Regions from separate parts of the Homo sapiens genome. Here region 2 is linked to region 1. Evidence: promoter capture Hi-C in 16 types of primary human blood cells and fetal thymus (Javierre and others, 2016). All regions are on one chromosome and are shown on one strand. The core of a region is centred on a gene start or on the middle of the fragment in contact, and the rest is flanking DNA. Distances in the headings are between cores, read along the strand shown.

What was found. Contacts are between HindIII fragments. The CHiCAGO score rates a contact against its expected background, and 5 or more counts as called.
Region 2: the fragment with the promoter of EID2B here is called in contact with the fragment with the promoter of PSMD8 in region 1 in 1 of 17 cell types (neutrophils); the score reaches 5.2 in neutrophils.

The regions. Positions count from the first base shown.
Region 1 is chr19:38,370,813-38,376,962 of GRCh38, forward strand. PSMD8 (proteasome 26S subunit, non-ATPase 8) reads left to right here and starts at 3,759. Exons shown (of 7, transcript NM_002812.5): 1 at 3,759-4,149; 2 at 5,348-5,420; 3 at 5,540-5,642. The coding sequence starts at 3,790. It overlaps CATSPERG (catsper channel auxiliary subunit gamma), which reads left to right. Exons shown (of 29, transcript NM_021185.5): 29 at 1-131. RefSeq lists enhancers at 3,668-4,298, 3,929-4,068. The HindIII fragment of the contact is 10,393 bases long and covers 3,415-6,150 here.
Region 2 is chr19:39,530,142-39,536,291 of GRCh38, forward strand. It overlaps EID2B (EP300 interacting inhibitor of differentiation 2B), which reads right to left and starts at 2,711. Exons shown (of 1, transcript NM_152361.3): 1 at 846-2,711. The coding sequence starts at 2,661. The coding sequence ends at 2,176. It also overlaps the pseudogene CRIPTOP7. The HindIII fragment of the contact is 7,702 bases long and covers 1,389-6,150 here.

The DNA.
Region 1 (6,150 bases), core at 2,509-5,008:
CCCAGTTACTGTCACGCCTCTCTTATGAGGCCCATCTTGAAGATGCAACCTGTCACCCAGCCCAGGCCTCTCTTTCTGTTTTGCTTGATGTTTACTTCTCGTTCAGACTCAAATAAAGCCTTTTTTCAGGACCAGCAGTGGGCTCTCTTAAAAGCTCGAGTTCAGAAGGTTTGTACCAGCATAGCTGCACATTAAAATATCATAAACCTGGCTGGGCATGGTGGTTCATGCCGGTAATCCCAGCACTTCGGGAGATCGAAGGAGGCAGATCACTTAAGGTCAGGAGTTTGAGACCACCCTGGCCCACATGGTGAAAACTCGTAACCCTGTCTCTACTACAAATACAAAAAATTAGCTGGGCATGGTGGTGCGTACCTGTAATTCCAGCTACTTGGGAAGCTGAGACAGGATAATCCCTTGAACCTGGGAGGCAGAAGTTGCCGTGAGCCAAGATTGCGCCACTGCACTCCAGTCTGGGCAACAGACCAAGACTCCGACTCAACAAAACAAAACAATAAATAAAATATCAAAAACCTTCTAGGCCACCTGTTAAATAGTGGCTTCTCTGTGTGCCTGTTGGCTGAGCCTCTCCCCAGTGTACCCCAGACCTCCCTGTGGTCCAGCAGGATCCTCCACAATCCAGGCCCATTGCTATGGCCGACCATCTGTTCTGATTGTTCAGTGTTAAATATTCTGAATGTCAACACCTATCTAATGTCTTAAGGAGGGGACCCTGGAGACGTCAGGATTCTTATTTTAGTTGCAAGTAGCAAATATTTCCCTCAAATGGTCTACATGAAAATGGTAATTTACAGGCTTCAGGTACAGTTTGATCCAAAGTCCCAAGGTCCACAGGATTCAGCCTTCATTTCTCTGTAGTTTTTTCTTCTCTGTCCTCCTCAGAGTGCAGTCTCTGACCTCAGGACAACTCCCCTCACCATCTGAGGCTAGTTATACAGTCCATAATCTGGATGGATGCGTAGTGACCAATGAATTGACAAGATGGAGGAATGAAGGCAGGAGGAAATAAATGAGTAAAAAAATACCCTGTTGCATGGTAGGCATTTGGTCAGCATTAATAGATGAATGAATGAAGGAGCGAATGAGGAAAGGTATGAGATTGCACCTAGTTGGTGCTCACCCAGAGTGTTGGGTTGGAGGAATACATTGGGGTTGGCATTGACTAGGCATGGTTGGTAGCACAAAAACCTGATGAAATTTGACAATAACAAGAGTTGGCAACACTCATGTGTGTAAGGGCTGCTGGCTAAGGTTGTTTCCACCACCAAGATTCTACCGAGTCACCTCATGGTCCAGGTGAACACATCATAATCCTGTATCAGCCAAGTCAACATGTTATTTAAATATCACCATCTGCACTTCCAGCCAAGATAGAGTGACAGAGACTGGATTTCCCCTCATACTTGAAACTATTTATGTTTTTTGAGATGGAGTCTCGCTCTGTTACCCAGGCTGGAGTGCAGTGGTGTGATCTCGGCTCACTGCAACCTCCGCCTCCTGGGTTCGAGCGATTCTCCTGCCTCAGCCTCCTGAGTAGCTGGGACTACAGACGCATGCCACTATGCCCGGCTAATTTTTTGTATTTTTAGTAGAGACGGGGTTTCACTGTGTTAGCCAGACTGGTCTCCATCTCCTGACCTCGTGATCTGCCCGCCTCAGCCTCCCGAAGTGCTGGGATTACAGGCATGAGCCACCTGGCCTGGCCATATCAACGTGGTATTTTGTTTATTTGTGTCTTTTTCTTTTTTTTTTTGAGATGGAGTTTTGCTCGTTGCCTAGGCTGGAGTGCAATGGTGCGATCTTGGCTCACTGCAACCTCCACCTCCCAAGTTCAAGTGATTCTCCTGCCTCAGCCTCCCGAGTGAGTAACTGGGATTGCAGGCACCCGCCACCATACCTGGATAGATAATTTTTTGTATAGTAGAGACGGAGTTTCACCATGTTGGCTAGGCTGGTCTCAAACTCCTGACCTCAGGTGATCCATCCACTTCAGCCTCCCAAAGTGCTGAGATTACAGACTTGAGCCACCACACCCGGCCATCATTTTTGTTTAAAACATTTTTTACCACCACAACTTCTTTCACATATTAATTTACTCATTAATTCAACACATATATAATTTCTTTCTTTTTCTTTTTTTCTTTTTTCTTTTTTTTTTTTTGAGCACAGTCTCGCTCTGTCACCCAGGCAGGAGTGCAATGGCGATCTCAGTTCACTGCAACCTCTGCCTCCCGGGTTCAAGTGCTTCTCCTGCCTCAGCCTCCCAAGTAGCTGTACTACAGATGTGCACCACCACGCCCGGCAAATTTTTGGTATTTTTACATTTATTTATTTATTTTCTCTGAGACAGAGTCTCACTCTGTCACCCAGGCTGGAGTGCAGCGGCACAATCTCAGCTCACTACAAGCTGACCTCCTGGGTTTAAGCGATTCTCCTGCCTCGGGCTCCTGAGTATCTGGGATTACAGGTGTGTGCCACCACGCACAGCTGGTTTTTTTGTTTTTTTTTTTTGGTATTTGCAGTACAGATGGGGTTTCGCCATGTTGGCCAGGTTGGTCTCGAACTCCTGACCTCAAGTGATCTATCTGCCTCGGCTTCCCAAAGTGCTGGGATTACAGGCATGAGCCACCATGCCTGGCCAACAAATATTTATTGACTGTCTACTAATATTTGCCAAGCACTGAGATACTGGGAATTCAGTAGTGAAGGAAATCGTCCTGCCTTCATGGAGATGACATTCTAAATGGTGGAGACGGAGAGTGAAAGTCGGGTTTGAGAAAAACGTGCTGCCCAGGCGCAGTGGCTCACACCTCTAATCCCAACACTTTGCGAGGTCAAGGCAGGAATATCGCTTGAGCTCAGGAGTTCGAGACCAGCCTGGGCAGTATAATGAGACTCTGTCTCTATAAAAAATTTAATTTTTTTTAAAAAGAGAGAAAAAGCGATGTTGAATGTGCAGATGTAATATCAATCAGTGGAGGAAGAAGTTGGTATAAGAAGTTGTGAATACTGGCCAGGCAAGGTGGCTCATGCCTGTAATCCCAGCATTTCGGGAGGCCAGGGCCCAGGGAATCGCCTGAGTTCAGGAGTTGGAGACCAGCCTGACCAACATCTACTAAAAATACTAAAATTACGTCTCTACTAAAAATACGAAAATTAGCCAGGCGTGGTGGCACATGCTTGTAATCCCAGCTACTTGGGAAGCTGGGGCAGAAGAATCACTTGTACCCAGGAGGCGGAGGATGCAGTGAGCCAAGATTGCTCCATTGCACTCCAGCCTGGACAACAAGAGCTAAACTCCGTCTCAAAAAAAAAAAATTGTGAATCCTCCACTTACACATGACATTGAAAGCCATAGAGCTGGATGAGTTTTGTAACTAGTTAGTTCATATAAGCTTGGGAAAAAAATGTGGAAGGATGCATTGAAAAAGACTGGAGAGGGAGCCCCAGGTACACATCCTAGCTGTTAGTCCTTTGGAAGGTTACCCAGCCTCTCAGTCTGTCTATAAAATGAGAATAACACAGCTCTCCAAATGGCACGACACCCGCTACCTTTTGGCTTGGAGACGCTGCCCCGAAGGCGGAACCTCCAGGACAGCTACGTAGCGTCCCGAGCACTCAGACTGAAGCCAGGGCAGCCATGTTCATTATTGGAACCGTGAGGTGGGTAGGGGGGGTGGTGTTGAGACAGCTGTCATTTTCAGTTAGGGCAAAAGCCAACTTCCGGTCACCATCTTGAGTGACGACAGAGGCGGAGCTCCAACTGACATGTTCATTAAGGGCAGGGCTCCGAGGGCGCCACCTCGAGAGCGACGGCGGGCTACCCGGGGCGGGCTGAGGCAGGTTGTAGCCCCGCCCCGGGCCTTGGGCTCCACCTCTCGGCCCCACTTCCGCCGGGCAAGCGTTTGTAGGCGGCGCTGCCGTAAATCAGGCGGTCTGCTTGCCGCATCACGCAAGATGGCGGCCGCGGCGGTGAACGGGGCGGCAGGCTTCTCGAGCTCCGGGCCCGCGGCAACCTCGGGCGCTGTTCTGCAGGCCGCGACCGGCATGTACGAGCAACTCAAGGGCGAGTGGAACCGTAAAAGCCCCAATCTTAGCAAGTGCGGGGAAGAGCTGGGTCGACTCAAGGTAAAGTCGGCAGGCCCAGGAAACCGAGTGTTGCGGGCGTGGGAGGCGCTACGAGGTGTCTGGACCCAACCAAGTCCCGGGCCGCGGAAGCCACCTCGGTGCCAGCGAGACTGAGGCGGGCTGGGGGATCCGATGGGGTGAAAGATTTGGAACAGCCAAAGTGGGGGCTCGGAGGGCGTCAAGAAGCGAGAGAGGGACAGGGAGCGTTGATGGTCACGCCTGTAATCGCAGCGCTTTGGGAGGCCGAGGCGGGGGAGCGTCGCTTGAGCCCAGGAGTTCAAGATCAGCCTGAGCAACATAGCGAGACTCTGTCTCTACATTTTTTTTTTAAGTGAGAGATGACTGGAATGGACCCACGCGGGGGTGGTGGGGGAATGATTGGAAGACTTATGGCAGAACTGAGTGAGGGGTTAGATTTTTGGTGCGTGGAGGCTTAACTGGTCGGAGTGGCAGGATTGGGATTCGGGCTTTTCCTGATGGTGGATTCCAGGCAAGACCAAGTGGGAAGTGAGGACTGCCCGGAGTGATAAAAGAATGAGGCTGAAAAGGTGGGCTGTGTAGAGGGTGTGTGGTTAAGACCAGGCTGGGTTAGGATCTGAGAGATCTGGGGCTTAGGCTCGCATCTGTTGGGAGAGGGGGCAGCCTAGTTGTGAAGGCAGGACTGAACCTAGAAGAAATATTCTTACAAGTAGAGAACAAGAATACGGGGCCCAGAGTGCTTCAGACCAAACATCTGTTGGGAGGGAGTGTAAATCCAGTGGCTTGGAACAAGCTGCTGAGCCTGCTAAGGAAAGATGTATGGGCTGAACTGTGGGGGGAGATTTGGACCTCCCCCTCCCAGATATAGATTTTGGGGATAGCCCAGCTACCCCTTCCCCAATAGATTGTGGGGAAGATGGGCCAAGAATGGAATGTACTCCTGTCCCCACCGCCGCGTGATTCCACTGGGTCAGGCACTGAGTGTCCCTCCTTGTTTCCCCAGTGGGGCTATTAATAATTGTAATGTGATGTAATCTTAAATGGGCATGTGTTGCGTGCTCAGGCCCTGTTCTGAGTGCTTTATGAGAAAGCATTCCTCATGAGTCTGGATGATGGTTAGCTCCATTTTCCAAGTGGGAAGACCAGAGCGTAGAGCAGGTAAGTCATCTGTATTTGAATTCCCTTCTTTTCTTTCTTCCCTCCCTCCCCTCCCCATCAGCTAGTTCTTCTGGAGCTCAACTTCTTGCCAACCACAGGGACCAAGCTGACCAAACAGCAGCTAATTCTGGCCCGTGAGTGTCACTGGGGTTGGTTGGGGGTGATAATCTGGGGGTCATGGCAGGAATGGTAGCACTGGTGGTTGGGGAAGAGACCTCAGTCACCTCCTGAGAGCTCACTCTGTCACCCACAGGTGACATACTGGAGATCGGGGCCCAATGGAGCATCCTACGCAAGGACATCCCCTCCTTCGAGCGCTACATGGCCCAGCTCAAATGCTACTACTTTGATTACAAGTGAGAATGGGCCCTGCCCCCAACTGGGGGGGTGGTTGCATGGAAGCTCCTTTATTTCTGGAGCTCTGGCTGCTTGGGTCCTCTTCCTTCATCTGGGAACTCCTCCTGGCTTAGTTCTCTCCTCAGTGGTGCAGGGTCAGGGCTTGGCTTGGAGGTCCTGAGACTTGGCTTGACTAGTCAGTCTCCCCCTACCCATTCCCACATTGCACCCCCTCTGCCCAGTGGGGCTGCCATCACCTTTCACGTGTCCTGGCCCCAGCCTTGCCCCTCTGACTCAAACCCCTGTGGCAGCCAGTAGGATCATGTGACACTAAAATTTGACACTGTCCATACCCCGCTCAGAACCTGCCGTGGCTCTTCATGGTCCTCAGGCACAAGACCAAGTTCTTTCCTGTGGCTTCCAATGCAGTTCCAGCTCACACCCCTCTGCCTGTGCCTGCTCATCCCAGCCCTTTCTCTCACTGGACTGTGAGCTTTCTAAAGGCAGAGCTTGGAACTGTCTCAGTTA
Region 2 (6,150 bases), core at 1,461-3,960, 1.2 Mb after region 1:
CCGGGAAGTGGAGGTTGCAGTCAGCTGAGATGGTGCCACTGCACTCCAGTTCAGGCGACAGAGTGAGACTCCGTCTCAGAAAAAAAACAAAAACAAACAAAAAATAAGGTGGCTGGGTGCGGTGGCTCAAACCTATAATCCCAACACTTTGGGAGGCTGAGGCAGGCAGATCTTGAGGTCAGGAGATCGAGACCATCCTGGCTAACCGGTGAAACCCTTTCTCTACTAAAAATACAAAAAATTAGCCGGGCATGGTGGCACGTGCCTGTAGTTCCAGGTACTCCAGAGGCTGAGGCAGGAGAATCACTTGAACCCAGGAGGCAGAGATTGCAGTGAGCTGAGATTGCACCACTGCACTCCAGCCTGGGTGACAGAGCAAGACTCTGTTTCAAAAAGAAAAAAAAAAAACAGTGTATTATGGAAAACGAGTAAACACGTATAAATGCATAGAAAATGTTAAAACATTTTGCAAACAACCCAGATGTCCAAAAGGTGTCTAGTTCATTATACTAAGATAAGGCTTTACATTGTAGTTGTAAAAAAAAAAACGCCCAGTGGAGTAGCTCACGCCCAGCACTTAGTACTTTGGGAAGCCGAGGCAGGAGGAACAGTTGAAGCCAAGAGTTGGAGACAAGCCTAGAAAACATAATGAGGCCCCATCTCTGTTTCTATATATAAAAAAAGAAAAAAAAAACCCTGATATATAAATCTCTCCATATATAACTGAAAAAACCCAAGATGCTGATAGAGGTATACAATATGTTACCTTGATTTTATATTTTTAAAAATTTATACCTCGTGATGCAAGTTAACTACCTTGATATTAAAAGGGAAAATGCACAATATTTAGATTGATGTTTATTTGCATATGCATTAGAAAACCTGAAAGGCGTACAGTGAAAAAGCAAAAAACAAGCAAAACCAAGAAAACAACAACAAAACTCCAAGCCACAAGCAATGGCACCTGCATGGAATAGTTCTGAGTTTGGCAAAGGACAGCAACAAGAGAGATTTCTCACAGCATCTTTTGATACTTTTTTTCTTTTTTTTGAGACGGAGTCCCACTCTGTTGACCAGGCTGGAGTGCAGTGGCGTGATCTCGGCTTACTGCAACCTCCGCCTCCCAGGTTCAAGTGATTCTCCTGCCTCAGCCTCCCGAGTAGCTGGGACTACAAGCGCGTGCCACCACACCCAGTTAATTTTTTATTTTTCGTAGAGATGGGGTTTCACCATGTTGGCCAGGGTGGTCTTGAATTCCTGACCTCAGGTGATCCACCCGCCGTGGCCTCCCAAAGTGCTGGGATTACAGGCGTAAGCCAGTGCGCCCGGCCGATACTTTTTTTTGTTGAGTCTTGTGAATAGAATACATATTCTAGAATAAAATAAAAAGCTTAAAATTAACAAAAAACAAGTTTATTCCACACCTACCCAATTTCACATAGACTTGAAAACACTGATCATATAATACGTGGTTTTTTCTATTGAATATTTACTGTTCATCTAAAGTACCTCAGAAAACACAAATATGAATCTTACACTAGGATTTGTTGACATGACCACAAATTGTGAAATTTCAAAGTCCTCTCAATAGCCTTCCAATCCTAGTAACTCAGGTACACCTGGATTCCTGACAACTCTATTTCTTTGTTTTCTTTCATCACTTAGGTTCATTTCTATGGGTTCTGTTATTGGCATTTTTTTTTTCTCATATCTTTGCAAAACCATCCTTTATGGTGAAAGTCATGAAGGATTCTTCACAAATGCAGGAAAATGCATTGCTAACAAAGTGCTAAGTCAGAAGTGTCTTGGGACCTGTTTGAAAACAAGATTCGGCCGGGCGCGGTGGCTCACGCCTGTAAAGTAATCCCAGCACTTTGGGAGGCCGAAGCGGGAGGATCGCTCGGGTCCAAGCGTTCGGGACCAGCCTAGGGATGCGAGACTCCCTTCTCTATTTAAATAATACTAAAAAAGAAGAAAGAAAACAAGATTCAACAGTCTTGTCTGTTTCCATTTCGGAGTGTGCTTCCTCCTTCAATTGCACATTGCCGTATTCCCTTCCAGTTTGCATTCCCCCTAATGACTGAGTTAACTAAACTGGCACAGCCTGCCTGTTCTTTTGATCCCAAAAGGGTCACTTGGCTATTCCTTGCCACCAATGTCATCATCACAGCCGACTCAGTCGGCCAGAGGACTGAGGGCCTCGGAGGCAGTCAGCGCTACCGTAAACGCGACAGCAGCGAAGTCCATCTGCGGGGGATCCGCGTCAAAGGCTGCTTCCCTCGCCTTGCAGCCTTCCACAAACAGCCTGCGGCGTTCCTCGAAATCCCGTAGTAATCTGACCGGAATCATGGAGCTACCATCCAGATACTCGCGGAACAACAGCTGCCGGTTAATTTCTAAGAAAGCGAGCTGCTGATGGGGGTCTGGCGCGGAGGCCAGGCCCGGGACGCTGCTGGGGATGGGCCCGGGCACAGGGCCCGGCATCCGCGCCATGGACCGCGCAGCTTCGGCCACTGGGCCTTCCCGAGCCTCCTGCACCCGAACCCCGCCGCCGACTGCCCCCCGCAGTACGTCGCTGACGCCACTCGCGGTGCCCACCTGTGGGACACTGCTATCTCCGGGGAGCTCGGACATCTCCAACAGCCCAGTCGGCTCCGCCATAGTCCCAGCGTTTCTACGGAGACTGGAATAACGGCACTGCACTGCTGTATGCGAGACCTGCGCATGCGCGAGTCTCAGTGAGCGCGTAAACGCTGTGCGTGCCAGAGTGTGCGCATGCGTAAGCACGGTGGCCAATCCTCTAGCGTTCCCTAGCGGTCCTGAGTAGCCATTACGTCTGTAGCCGCCTCTGGTCCTCTGAGCGCCTGAGGACCTGCGGACTGCGCGGTATCTTAAATTACAACCACTTCAGTATTAATGTAAAGTTCCTTATACGGTCATTTTCCAGCTCCTGTCTTTTTTTTTTTTTTTTCAGACTGGGTCTCGCCCTGTCGCCTAGGCTGGAGTGCAGTGGTGCGATCTCGGTTACTGCTGCTTTGACCTCCCAGCCTCAAGCCATCCTCCTGCCTCAGCCTCTGGAGTAACTGGAACTACAGGTGCACACAACCACACCCAGCTGATTTTTTATTTTTTGTAGAAATTGGGTCTCACTATGTTGCCCAGGCTGGTCTCGAACTCCTGGACTCAAGTGATCATCCTGCCTTGGCCTCCCAAAGTGCTGGGATTACCGGCCTGAGCCACTCGGCCTGGCCTGTAAGTAATATTTTGACACTGGAAGTTTGGGGGTTTCCCAAAACCACCTTTAGGTTTGATAATTCCCAGAGCTCATTGAAATCTGTTATATTCACAGTCATGCTTATTACAGGCAAAGGACACAGATTAGAAGAGATGTATAAGGCACAATCTGGGATGGGGAGGGTTCCAAATGTGAAGTTCCTGTGTTCCTAGGGATGTGTTACCCTTTGTCGTCCATGTGTGGCAATAAGTGTGGGGGTAGTGCTAACATAGGACTCTCACCCAGGCTTTGGTGTCCAGAGTTTTTACTGGGGTTTTACTACCTAGGCATGCTTGATTAAACCATCGTCCATTTTGTTGAAGTCAATCTCCAGCCTCCTACCTGATATCACATGGCTCCAAGCCCCAACTCTCTAATGATATGGTTAGCCTTTCTGTGTGGCTAGCTCTGATCCTGATGATAACCCAAAACGTGAAAGTCTATGTTCCATTTAAAATCAGTCAGCTGTGGCTGGGTGTAGTGGCTCATGCCTGTAATCCCAGCAAGTTGGGAGGCAAAGGTGGGAGGATCGCTTGAGCCCATGAGTTTGAGACCAGCCTGGGCAACATAGTGAGACCCCTGTCCCTACAGAAAAAAAAAATTAGGCAGGCATGGTGGCATGTGCACCTGTAGTCTCAGCTATTCAGGAGGCTGAGGTGGGAGGATGACTTGAGCTTGGTAGGTGGACTGTGCAGTGAGCTATGATTGCACCACTGCACTCCAGCCCTGTATGACAGAGCAAGACCCTGTCTCGAAAAAAAATCCTTTGAATTTAGCTGGAATCCAAATATGAGAGTTGCTGGCAATTGAACTTCAGGAGGATCCATCTAAAAATTCTGACCTATCACAGGTCGTGTCTGGGAGCTGATTGGGTTGGAAATCATTCTGACTCACGTGTACCTTACTTTGTTTCTACAGTTCTCTTGGAGAGATGGAGTTCTCCTACATGTGACATATATGCTTCAAAAAGCACATTTGTGATATTCCACAGAAGACAAAAGAAAGGACTTCTCTGGAAGGTAACTTCAAGGGGACAACAACAGAGCTATGGACTGCAGGAAGATGGCCTGCTTCTCTTCCAGTGTGATTTGGATCATGGCCATTTTGAAGCCTTTGAACTGGGATTAGTTGCTGGGCTGGGTCATCAGGAACTTGCGTGTCCATCTCAGGGAGACCTGGCCTTCAGAAATGACAGCATTCGGCCCCAGGAGGAGCCTGCAATTCGGCCTCAGTCTTCCCAGCGTGTGCTGCCCATGGGGATACAGGACAGTAAGGAGCTAAGCAGAACCTGCTGCCTGAATGGGGGAACCTGCATTGGGGTCCTTTTGTGCCTGCCCCCCGTCCTTCTATGGATGGAACTGTGAGCACGATGTGTGCAAAGAGAACTGTGGGTCTGTGCTCCATGACACCTGGCTGCCCAAGAAGTGTTCCCTGTGTAAATGCTGGCACGGCCAGCTCTGCTGCTTTCCTCAGGCATTTTACTGGCTGTGATGGCCTTGTGATGGATGAGCATCTCATGGCTTCCAGGACTCCAGAACTACCACCGTCTGCATGTACCACTTTTATGCTAGCTGGCATCTGCCTTTCTATACAAAGTTACTATTAATTGACACTGACCTATTTCCAGAAATACCATTTTAGATATCATGCAAATTTCATGACCAGTAAAAGCTGCTGCTACAATGAAAGATGATCATTTGTTAGTTTACTTAAAATAATGAGTATATTTCCAAAATGGTCTCTAACATTTCCTTACAGTATCAACAACTTCTTACTTCTTTGCCCTGCCCTCTCCCAAAAAACGACTTCTTTTTTCAAAAGAAAGTCAGCCATATCTCCACTGCACCCAAGTCCAGTGTTTCTTTCTTTTTTTGAGATGGAGTCTCGCTCTGTCACCCAGGCTGGAGTGCAGTGGCACGATCTCAGCTCACTGCAACCTCTGCCTCCTGGGTTCAAGCAATTCTCCTGCCTCAGCCTCCCCAGTAGCTGGGATTACAGGCATGTGCCACCATGCACGACTAACTTTTTTGTATTTTTAGTAGAGACCGAATTTCACCATATTGGCGAGGTTGGTCTTAAACTCCTGACCTTGTGATCTGCCTGCCTTAGCCTCTCAAAGTGCTGGGATTACAGGCGTGAGCAACTGCTCAAGGCCTCGTGTTTATTGATACATGTAATTCTACCAAGGTCTTCTTAATATGTTCTTTTAAACGACTGAATTATATCTTCAGATTATTAAAGACTAATCTTAATGTGGACCTTAGGATACAGTTTTGAGTAGAGTTGATCAAAATCAATTAACATTGTCTCTTTAAAAGGAAAGACAGCCTCTTTAAGGCGAGGAACCAGAGTGATGAAGGAATGGAAGTCTGTCTGCATGTGTGCAGGGAGACTGGGTAAGAAAGAGGAAGCAAATGGGAGAGAGAGGTTGGAAAACATAAAATAGGTTATTTAACTGGTGATTAGGTGGGTGTAGAGAAGCAAGTTAAAAGGCTAAATGGAAGGGCAAGTTTCCATCATCTAATGAAAGATATATAAGACAAGGACTCCCCTTTTTTTCCTAAAGGCATTGTAAAAAGAATTGATTTTTAGACGGAGTCTCGCTCTGTCGCCAGGCTGGAGTGCAGTGGCGCAATCTCGGCTCACTGCAACCTCTGCCTCCCAGGTTCAAGTGATTCTCCTGCCTCAGCCTTTGTAAAAAGTCTTTTTAGAAAAAATATTATACCTCAATGTCCCCAACAAAATTGCTTAATAAATTATGCTTCCTCCAAGCTATGCAATTCTTTTAACTGTTGTAGAAGAGAAAATGTTCAGTGTATTTAGTTGTAAACCAAGTGATAAAACCACATATTGTAAAGCTCATTTAAAAAATACAT